Linked DNA regions of Homo sapiens: region 2 is linked to region 1. The links are contacts of gene promoters, found by promoter capture Hi-C in blood cells and fetal thymus (Javierre and others, 2016). All regions are on one chromosome and are shown on one strand. The core of a region is centred on a gene start or on the middle of the fragment in contact, and the rest is flanking DNA. Distances in the headings are between cores, read along the strand shown.

What was found. Contacts are between HindIII fragments. The CHiCAGO score rates a contact against its expected background, and 5 or more counts as called.
Region 2: a fragment that was not itself captured here is called in contact with the fragment with the promoter of TCF7L2 in region 1 in 1 of 17 cell types (M1 macrophages); the score reaches 5.0 in M1 macrophages.

Annotation. Positions count from the first base shown.
Region 1 is chr10:112,948,824-112,954,023 of GRCh38, reverse strand. TCF7L2 (transcription factor 7 like 2) reads right to left here and starts at 3,777. Exons shown (of 15, transcript NM_001367943.1): 1 at 3,079-3,777; 2 at 2,751-2,817; 3 at 2,417-2,541. The coding sequence starts at 3,267. It overlaps LOC124902502 (a long non-coding RNA gene), which reads left to right and starts at 1,682. Exons shown (of 2, transcript XR_007062291.1): 1 at 1,682-2,246; 2 at 3,017-3,395. The HindIII fragment of the contact is 8,187 bases long and covers 1-5,200 here.
Region 2 is chr10:113,481,836-113,487,317 of GRCh38, reverse strand. It overlaps LOC107984270 (a long non-coding RNA gene), which reads left to right. Exons shown (of 2, transcript XR_001747591.2): 2 at 1,701-4,825. It also overlaps the pseudogene PPIAP39. Among named protein-coding and RNA genes, the nearest start is that of HABP2, 68 kb to the left of the region's middle. The HindIII fragment of the contact is 2,320 bases long and covers 340-2,659 here.

The DNA of each region.
Region 1 (5,200 bases), core at 2,528-5,027:
GCTCTGCTGACCAGCCTAAATAAATAACTTTAATTTTGGAGCACATAATCTAACCCAGGTAACAGGGAGGAAGGACGAAGGGGCAGTGTACACAAAGATGTCTGCTGGTGTTTGACATGTAAGTACTAAAACTGCCTACTGAGTTCAGAAATGTGTTCTGAGACTCAATCTGATGTCACAGCACCAGGCCACCCGCTATGTCCACAATTAAAATAACTAGACGCCGTCTATTCCTATAATGCCCACAAAAGGGACCGATCATTGGGAGCCTTCCTTTTCTCACCGGGAAATCATTTATTTGCCTTTAGCAATTTCCCTGTTTGCTAATTACAAGACAACACAACTGCTCAAGTTTGAGAAGGGATGGCAAGATTGCCAGTATCAGACAGCGAGTTTAAAAAGAGTCAAGAAAGCTAGCAAGCCCGCCATCAAAGCTCAATATTCAGATGGTTAAGTGGATTTTAAAATAATACCAGGGAGGTTTCCATCGGAAGGGGGAGGGGAGGAGAGGCAGAAATTCTCAGGGATTCTTTGGAATGTTGCTTGGTCCGGTTTATTGGTAGGCGAACACTGCGATTCTGAGCCGAACGGTCCCGTTTAAGATGCCCCACAAGCTCCCAAGAAAAATACAAAGTAAGCGAACTGTGCTTCCCCTACAGCTGCAAGCCCAGAGCGCGGCCCCTGCAGCCTGGTGGAACTGGCCCTGGAGAAGGGGGTTGAGCCGAACCGCTCTCCCAGCTTCCCAAGCATGTCTGGGCGCCGGGCAGGGGGGGAATAATTATTTCTCTTCCCTAGCCATAAAAAAAATGACCGGTCTAGCATGCCCTTGCCATTTTGCCAGGGCCCAAAAAAGCAAGTCAAACCTGATAGTTAATATTTTAATGCTTAAAAACACTTGTAGATCTGATCGACTCCCGTCCGGCAAGCCCTCGGCCATTAGCACCGAATCCATGGCTGCTGAACAGTGGGTGCATTATTTCAAATTGCTATCTAGAGTTACCGAAAAAGAAAAAACAAAAGTCGTGTGTGTAAATAAGGGGTAGGGGACCAAACTGGAGAAGGTGTAAAATGACAATACCGGGAAGCCGGGCACAAATGCGTCTTGCGTCCAGGGATTCGTAATCCAGGCTTCTTAGAAGAGGGAGGGAGGGATGAGGAGGAGGGGGTTCAGGGTGAGGGCAGGGGGCACAGGCCGGTGGGGGAGGGGATGAGCCGTATTAACAAATGTCAGGGTTGGGCGCGGGACCGACCCTGCAGGAAGCGCCCCCCGAGCCCGGCACCCCGCGCTGCCCTGGGGCCCCCAAAGTTGGGTGGCCGGCGATCGGCGGCCCACTCCCTTGAAGGAGAGGCGCCCCAGCCTCCCTCGGCCCCCGCACCTCCTTGAGCCCGCACACCCTGGTCTCTGGCCCCCCTGGGGCCCACGACGGGCCTACACGGAAGCTGGCGAGCGCCGACCCCGCCATACATCCCAAGGCGCCAAAATTCCCTAGAAATACACAAGTCCGCTTGGAGGAGTCCATTCCGGCTGCACACAAACCAAGAATCCGGGCCGCAGGGGCCTCCCCGCCCCACTCAGCCCTGCTGCCCTGCGCGGCCCGGGAGAGCCCGCAGCCAGTGCGCCGGGCAGCGGAGCCCGCCACGGCGCCCAGGGCGCTCGCGGCCCTGCGGGTTGCCAAAGAAAAGGACGCCTCAGAGCCCCCAAGTTTGCGGTGGGACCAATCTGGGAAGTGTGACCTTCCAGGGGAAGGGGGAAGGAGGGCCGAGAGCCAGCAATCTCCACTAGAAAGCTAAATACATAGTCGCCCAAAAGAGAAAGCCAAGGAGCCTCTCCAGGGCCCCGGGCTCTGCGCGCTAGCCAGTTCTCAAGTCCAATGCCTGGAGGAAACCCACTCTCTACCCCGCGCATCGGGCGCAGCACAGTCAGTCACTCGTGGCCCGCAGCGGCAGCCAAGGGGTTAACCGGGGAAAGCCCAAGACGCCACAGAAGAGGGAAGGAAGAGAAGGAGAGAGAGGGAGAGAGAGCAAAGGAAGAGCCACAGAGTCATCTTCCCAGGGTGAAGAAACAAACACCACCACCAAAGGGGGAGGGGGAACCAGAACGCAAAGGAAAGTTCTTCGGATTCCCCCCCCTCCCCACCAACAAAGCCCTGCTTGGACAGAGAGGTCTCCCCAACATCACGAGGCAGCAAACTGAAAGCAAGAACGTGGCGAAGTGCAAACAAATCCAGTCCACAAAAGGCAGAAAAGTTTGGAGAGTTTCGGGCCTCCTGGGCCACGAGCGGGGGAGGGGAGGGAGGGAGGGGAGGAGGCGGGGAGGGGGAGGCGGGGAGGGGGCAGGGCAGGGGCCGCATGCGGGGCCCGGCGGGCGGCGCGGGCGGGCGGGCAGCGGGCGGGGGCCGGGCGCGGAGGCACTTACGGTTCGGGCGGTGGGCGAGAGCGATCCGTTGGGGAGGTAGGGGCTCGTCAGGTCGGGGATCATGATGAAGGGGTAGCCGGGATACGGTGGCCCCTTAAAGAGCCCTCCATCTTGCCTCTTGGCCGCTAACATGGCGGGGCGGCGAGGGGACAGCGGCGGCCGCGCGGAGCGGGAGAGAGTGAGGAGAAACTTTTTAGAAAGTGCCCCGAGGGGCCGGGCGCCCCGACCGGGCCGGCGCAGGGCCAGGCCGAGCCGGGCGCGGGGCCGGGGCGCGCGGGGCGGCCGGCCCGGGGGGCGGCTCCGGGCGGCTGCGGGGCGCGCGGGGCGTACTCACCTTCTTCCAAACTTTCCCGGGATTTGTCTCGGAAACTTTCGGAGCGAGGCGGAGGCCGTCTTTCCGCCTTCCCAGAGGGGTGGAGGTGGGGAGGGCGAGGGGCAAACGCCACGCAGAAGGGGGAGAAGGGGGAGAAAAAGAATCGGCGAGGTCGAGGGGGGGGTAGAAAAAAACAGGGTTACAAGTTTTTGCAATGGTGGCACCGTACGCACACGCCGCCCGCCGGGCCCCGCCGCCGCCCCCAGCCCCGATTTCTCCCCTTTCAGCAACATTTGCCAAGCCCAGGAAACAGATAAAAAACCCCACCAGCCCGAGGGGCTTTTCCTACCTCGGAATCGGAGGAGCTGTTTTGATTCGTTTCTGATTCATTGACTAGAGACGATTTGACATCAGCTAAATCCCTCTCTGCCGAGGAGTTTTCGGAGCTCTTCTCCTCCTGTTCGCCCTCGTCTTTGAAGGAAATCAGTTCGTCGTTGGCGCCTAGGTCATCCCCTCCACCGCCGTTCAGCTGCGGCATTTTTTTTTCACCCACCAGCAGCAATTTTGGAAGAAAAATGAAGGAGGAAGAAAAGCCAAAAAAAATCACCCCCAAAAAGTTTTGCCCCCCCAAAAAATATTGCAAGAAAAAGACGAGTCCAAGGTGAACTTTTTTCTGCTTGGGGGTCTTTTTCTCCTGGGGAGGGGAAAAGAGGGAGGAGGGGAGGGGAAGGGGGGGGAGATCTTCTGCACGCGTGAGTTTGGGTTTCTTTTTTCTCTCGTTCCCAAGGATCCGATCAATGTGCAAAAAAATAATAAATAAAAAAGGGGGGTAAAAAAAAAAAAAACACCAACAACAACAAGAAGTCAGATATAAAGAGCAAAGGGGGGGGGAAGCCGAAGATACAGGAGGTGCTCGTGCCGCTCGGATTTGAGTGAGTTGAAGTTAGACTGAGAGCTTTTCAGTTCAAAGGCGGCGCTGATTGACAGATAGAAAAAGGGGGATCGAAATCCGGAGGAACGGAGTAGTCTGGGAGCGGAGATTATTGACAGGGCGAGAGGAACACACTGCCTTAATGAGATGCCGGAGGGCGGGGCCGGCCCAGTGACGTGTGCATAAATAAACAGCCGGGGTGGGCGGGGCGGGGGCGGCTAACAATGATCCTTTCGGGCGCCGGGAGAGGGAGGAGGGAAAGAAGGAGGAAGAGAGGGGCGGGGAAGCCGGGGGGAGACGGAGGGAGGAGTGTGCAGGGGGAGCGGCCTGCGCGGAGTGTGTGCGAGCCCGGGATTCTGGGCGAGGGTGCAGGGACTTGCTCCGGGAGGGGGCGGTTTCAGAAAGACAATGCGGGGTGGGAGAGGAGGAGAAGGGGGTGGCGACCAAGTCAGGAATCCGAGCCGAGGAAGGCGGAAGGAAAGCCCACTTGGGGGGCGGGGATGGGGAGAGGCCCAAAACAGTGCACTTTAGAAATATTAGAAATAAGTCTTAAGGGAGGGGGAAAAGGAAGGGTAGTATTTGAGAAAGTGGTGGCTGGGGGAGGGGGTGGGGGGGTGCTTGGTGGTTAATTCAGCAGTGAAATCAGCCACCCTTAGACGGGATGCGACAAAAGTGGTCAAAAGGAAAGATCAACCCTCCACTTTCAGAGAGCTTGGGGAAGTGAAGGGGCTGGTCAAAGTTCCTGGTCATCTACAATGAAAGAAACTATTAACCCATGAGGCCTCCCTCCTCCCTTTTTTGTTTATTAGTAGTGAATCATTTCATGAAATGTTAAGTCCCACTAGGATGGATATGCCAAAACGACTTTTTATGCAAAAAACAAATGCTAAATGTCAGAAACATTAAAAGTATCCTTAAGGAAAAATATATGATTCTTTTAAATGTAGAGTGGTGTTTTGCTTTTTTTTTTTTTTTTTTAACTGACGTTGGAGGTAGTAGGAAATGAGCTAGAGTCAAAGTCCTTTTTGACTTAGGAGGTGAAAAGTTTGGGCGTTAACACCGTCAGGGAAAATAAAACTGAAAGTTCACCAACCCCTGGGATCAGTTGGGCTACAGTGTTTCTCGAAGGGGGTCTGAAATGAAATCCCCGAAAGACTGACCAAAATAATCAAGATGTAGGTGGCTCTGGCAGGAAATTGCTAACCAAACCGATGCTAGAAGACCTTCGGGAGAAGATGGGAAACCTGGGGCTTGAGGCAGGTATTTGTTGACTTTTAGGTATTAGAGGAGGAGCAGACTGATTTGCTACAAAATGGGGAATGGAATTATGTTAAAGAGGAAAGACCCAGCTCCCAAAACACAATGTTCCTGGGTGATAGAGCAAGAAAATTCATTTTTGCAAATACCCAGTAAGAAGTAGACTGGACACTACAACATGAAAAAGAGAAAAAAGAAAAAAATAAATCAGTAGGATTTAGCAAATTGCCTCTTAGGAGTAGTATTAGTCTAGAGTCCAGGATGTACTGTTGTCCCACCCTTC
Region 2 (5,482 bases), core at 250-2,749, 540 kb before region 1:
AGACATCAAGGCCAGACAACAAACCTGTTTTGCTGAGCATTTTGTCCAAGTGCTCTTAAAATACTTTTGTCTGGGATTGGTTTCTTTGTGCAGGACTGGGATTAGAACTAAGAGGCCCCTCCATGGGGAACTGCAGGCTCCAGGAGCCAGGCTGCCATCTCAGAAACCACCGGGTCTTTTGACTCTCCCAAAGCTATCTATAGCCCACAATGACACACAGTAGGTGCTCACTAAGTATCTGTTGAAGCATCAATGCACTTAACAGAGGGATGTGAACAACCTGACTCCCAGGAGCTACTGAACAGTAAAACACTGAGGTTTGCTTTAGTCAGACAAGCTTTGTCTTCTCGGAACAAACAAAAAAACAATAAAAATAAATCAGACAAGGCTTTGTTTCTGAAAGACACTGAACAAATACACTTGAGGTATTATCTCAAGAAAAATCAATGTCTTTCCCATCCACCGGTGTACGTGCCTTTGGCATTGACTTGGAAACACTGAAACCCTCCTGGCCCAGTGCTCTCTTGAGTCCACAGGCTGAGAATACCAGTTCCAGCATTCCCAGCTGGCCAAGCCGATGAGAACTCATTTCCTTCTTGGAGTGCAGAGCCATCACTGCAGGTACTAACATGCCTTCGTGCTCTCTGCCTTCTGGCTAACAAAGCAAGCAGACAAAGAAAAGAGGAGGCAATGCAGGCAACTGTGGGGCTAGGAGTTTTGAAGAGTGGAGTTTGGGAACTATTACAGAGAGGTTAAGTGGAGGAGGCTGGCCTAGAACTAAGAAGATACTTGGCTGGGCCACGGAATCACCTGGGGACTATTAATTTATTTATTTGTGAGATAGGGTTTCGCTGTGTCGCCCAGGCTAGAGCGTAGTGATACGACCATAGCTCACTGCAGCCTGTAACTCCTGGGTTCAAATGATCCTCCCACTTCAGCTTCCCAAGTAGCTAGGACTATACAGTCCTGGGGCATTTTAAATAATGACAGTTTCCTAGGTCCTACCCAAGACCAGATTCTCCATCTTAAAATGCTCTTTAGGAGATTCTATGATGAAAAAAAAAATGCAGAAATCAAGTTCTGCTTAGACACCATTACTCTGAGTGACCTCCAACTTTTTGCAGCTTACCAAGGGGGTCTCAGGCTGGAGATAACTTCTCCCCAAGTGTTCCCCTGGGAGGACTTAGCTGACAATATTGAAAAGGAGAGATTTTTTTTTAAGAACATACAGAGGTGTCTAAAATAGTTGAACTCATGGAAGCAAAGAATAGAATTGTGGTTGCCAGGCACTAGGGGGAGAGAGGAAAAGAGTTGGTATTTAACAAGAATAAAATTTCAGTTATGCAAGATGAATAAGTTCTAAAGATATGCTCTACAACACTGTGCCTAGAGATAACAATACTATATTGTACACTTAAATATCTGTTAAGAATGTAGATCTCATGTAAAGCGTTCTTACCACAATAAAATGTTTTAAAAATGAATGGAAGAATAAAAAAGAACATAGAGCATGGAAAAGAAGAGCTGGAAAATTCTCAGTGGTGTGTCTCATGGTTGCAGCCATGTGTCTGTAAATATATCTTGGAAAGAATTCATCCTCAGAAATAATTACACAGAATGACTAATATAGAAGATAAATGTTTCATTATAACTGTTTAATAGAGCCTCAAAATTCCTCCTTTTGGTACTTTGGCTCCTAGGAAGAAAAAGTGGATGAGGAAGACCCTTTGGACATCGTCAAAAGAGGCATTGTTAGCAAATGACGGGGGGCCAGTCCTGAAAGCCTGTGAGGCTGTGAGCAACTCTCCCACCTGCTCTTCTCTGTCTGTCCTACTCCTCATGACAATGACTCTTATCCTGGAGGGCCTGCAGTAGCGTTTGACACACGTACCTCATTTAATTCTCACAAGAGTTCTATGAAACAGGCTAGGATTTGGCAAACCATTGTCAGCTACCTGTTTTTGTAAATATAGTTTTATTGGAACATAACCACCACAATTTATTTACATATTGTCTATAGCTGCTTTTACTCTACAATGGCAGAGTTGAGTAGTTGTGACAAAAGCTCTAGGCCCTGAAAAGTGCAAAATATTTATTTTACTATGTGGCCCTTTACAGCAAAGGTGTGTTGACCCCTCAGATAAATGGGACATTGCTCCCACTTTACATATGAGGCACAGAAAAGCTAAGCGCATTGACTGAGATCATTTGGGTTATAAATTATAGTGTCAGAGATGTCTCGGACCCAGAGACAACTGTTCCCTATGCTTTTCTCCTCCCTACCTTATAGCATCTCCTACTCTTTCACATTCATTTGTTCCTACTAAATGTGTCAGCCAAAAAGAACACATTCATTTGCACTGAACAAGACGTCTCAGGTTGACCATCACACAGAAGTCAACAGGAGGTTCTGGAGACTTGCAGAAAGTGATCATCCAGCATATCCTCTCCTCTCCTCTCCTAGCCCCTAAGGACTGATTCGTAGTCTGCCCAGAGTTTATAAGAGAGACAGTCATCCAACATGAATAGAGATGGCCTGAGCAGGCATGGGCTCTTTGAAATTCGGAGAGATCAGCTCAAAGATACACTGGGAAGAACCAGGTTGCCCCAAGCAAAAGGCAACAACTGCCCTTGGTTGAGCAAGATTCCTTGGGAAGCTTATTGGAGGCCCCACCTCTAAGGACAGGCCCACATTTGCCTTGTCTGCCATTCTTCCCTTACTGATGTATTCTGACCCTGTCTTGGCTTGATTTATCTTTGATGTCTTTGATGTTGCTCATGACCATGCTGCCTTCTTCCTGGGAGTTCCCATCTGGTCCTGGTTTCTGCTTCTCTTGCCTTAGCTCATACTCAAACCCTGTGGGTAACAGCCCACGTGCAACAGTGGTCTGCAGCTCCTGAGGGCTGTTGAAAAGATTGCTTCATTCAATGCCATAAAAATATCCAAGAATACAGCAATTGTTATAGAAATTATGGTAAATCTGCACAATGAAATATTATGCAGCCACTAAAACGGACATCAATTCAGATTTCTAAATGACACAATGTAGCAGAGACAGGGCCAGGTTCATGGGTGTGGGTCCTACACAGTCATACAGGGCTCCACACTTACAAGGGCCCTACACTTGGTTTAATGCTCCATGGCTGCCACCTTGAAATTCTGAATAGTTTTATAACAAGAGTCCTCCACATTTACATTTCACATTGAGCCTATAAATTGTTAGCTAGTCCTGAGCAGAGATGACTCTGAGTGCCCATTTTCTCCTGTCTTTTAGTAATAGAACCTCCTCCCTTTGCTTCATACATACACCCTGACTAGTGTTTCCACGCTGGAATTCCTTCCCAGTATTTCTTGAGAATTTTTTATGTTTCTCCAAATCTCGAAAGAAAAATCAGTCAAGAAATTGGGAAAAAGTATTGTAATTATCCTGCAGGAATCAAGGCTTAATGATCAACATAAAGACATCACTGGTTTGAATCCATCAATGTCAAATGAAAAGCAAGAGCAGGAAAGGCTGGCAGGTGGAAGAGCATATAGCACATAGGAGAGCACATAGGTCAAGAGCTGATCAGTCAATCTTGCTTGTAGCCATTGTCCTGTTCTAAGTGTGTGTTCTTGGCCCTGACTGATGCTAATGGCAAGTCATTCTTGGAAATAAAATAAGCAGTATTAGGTTTATATGTATGTATACTTTATTCAAATCCTGCTAGTGATGTTCTAGGAAATAACAAATTTGGGAAGCAAAATACGCCCTTAATTGGCAATTTCAATGTGTGATTCTGTGTAGTGCTTTAACCTTGCTAGGAGATCTGAATGTCACATTCTTTGAATATTACCCAAAAATGTTCACTGGTATTTTCTAATGTTTGATTTTTTTTTTATCTCAGGCTATAGTTGTTTATAAATTTGCTAAATGTAATATTTCTTATTTATTAAACCAATTTCTTTTAGATATCCACAGTAATGACTAAAGAGTATAAAAATTGCTGGAAGTCTTTTATTTTCTTCTTGTTACTTAGTTTTCATTTTGTAATTATAAACTTAACTCTGCGATCCAGCTAGACATGGAAGAGGATAAGGAAAATATGGAACCCAAAGGACTGTGCAAAGATTATAGGATGCTGTGAGCAAATGGGGTGGAAGCATGCTTTCCTGAGCTATAGAAGGAACGATCTGGTGGTTCAGATAAAACAATCAAATTTATTAGAGTTGTCCACAGTCAGCAGCTGTGATCTTCTTGCTGGTCTTACCATTCCTGGACCCAGAGCGTTCCAGGGCTTCCACAATACTCATGCCATCTTTCACCTTGCCAAAGACCACATGCTGTCATCCATCCTCTGTCTTGGCAGTACAGAAGAAAAACTGGGAACCATTTGTGGTGGGTCCAGCATTTGCCGTGGACAAGACGCCAGGAGCTGTATGCTTAGGATGAAGTTCTCATCATCAAATTCCTTGCTGTAGAGGGACTTGCCACCAGTGCCATTATGGTGTGTGAAGTCACCACCCTGACACACACCCCGGAATAATTCTGTAAAAGCAGGGACATTTATCACCAAATACTTTCTCTCCAGTGTTCAGAGCACAAAAATTTTCTTCCATCTTTAGAACTTTGTCTGCAAATAGCTTGAAGGAGATGCAGCCCAAGGACTCACTATCAATTGCAATGTTGAAGAACACAGTGGGGTTGGCCATGGCTGGTGGCAGGGAGTTCTGGGCAGCAGCGATGTCTGCAAATGGAAGTCTTTTCAGAATAACACGAGTTTATCTTTATAACAAACCTATACATGTATCCCTGAACCTAAAATAAAAGTTTTTTTTTTAAAAGGATAACTTATTATTTCAGAAATTTCTAAGAATTCCCAGGAATTCCAACTTCTCATTTGTATATCCTGATGAATATCCACTGGGTATTTGGAAATGCCAATTTCTGACATATGATTGCTTAGCTAGAGACTGCATTTCCAGCCTCCTTTGCAGGTAACTATAGCCAGGTTCTAAGTTTTGGCCAATGAGATGTTAGCAGAAGTGAAATGTGTGCCTTCTGGATTTTATTTTTATGAGAAATTTGCCTGTCTTCTATTCTTTTTCCCTCTTCTCTCTGGCTCGGAAATGATGAAAAGTACAGGACTCACTGGGACCAAAATTCAGAAATTACATGTTAAGGAAGAGAGGGCTGCTCCTCTAGCCTGTTCTCCTTATGACCTTGTGGAACGGAATTGCCTACCTGCCCTGGACTATCCTAAGATTGTCGTATGGAGAGAAATACATTCTATTTTATTTAAACCTCTGTGTTTTGTGGCCTCTTTGTTACAGCAGCTTAGCCTATACTAACACAAATGGGAACATACTATCCTAAAATGCTACTTGACAAAGCATACACGATTTCATATCCAGTAGAGCATCAGTCACTGAAAAAAAAAAACAACACAAAGAAAATGTCTAGGAGAAAATATGTCAAAGTACAACAAAAGGTAAGGGAGA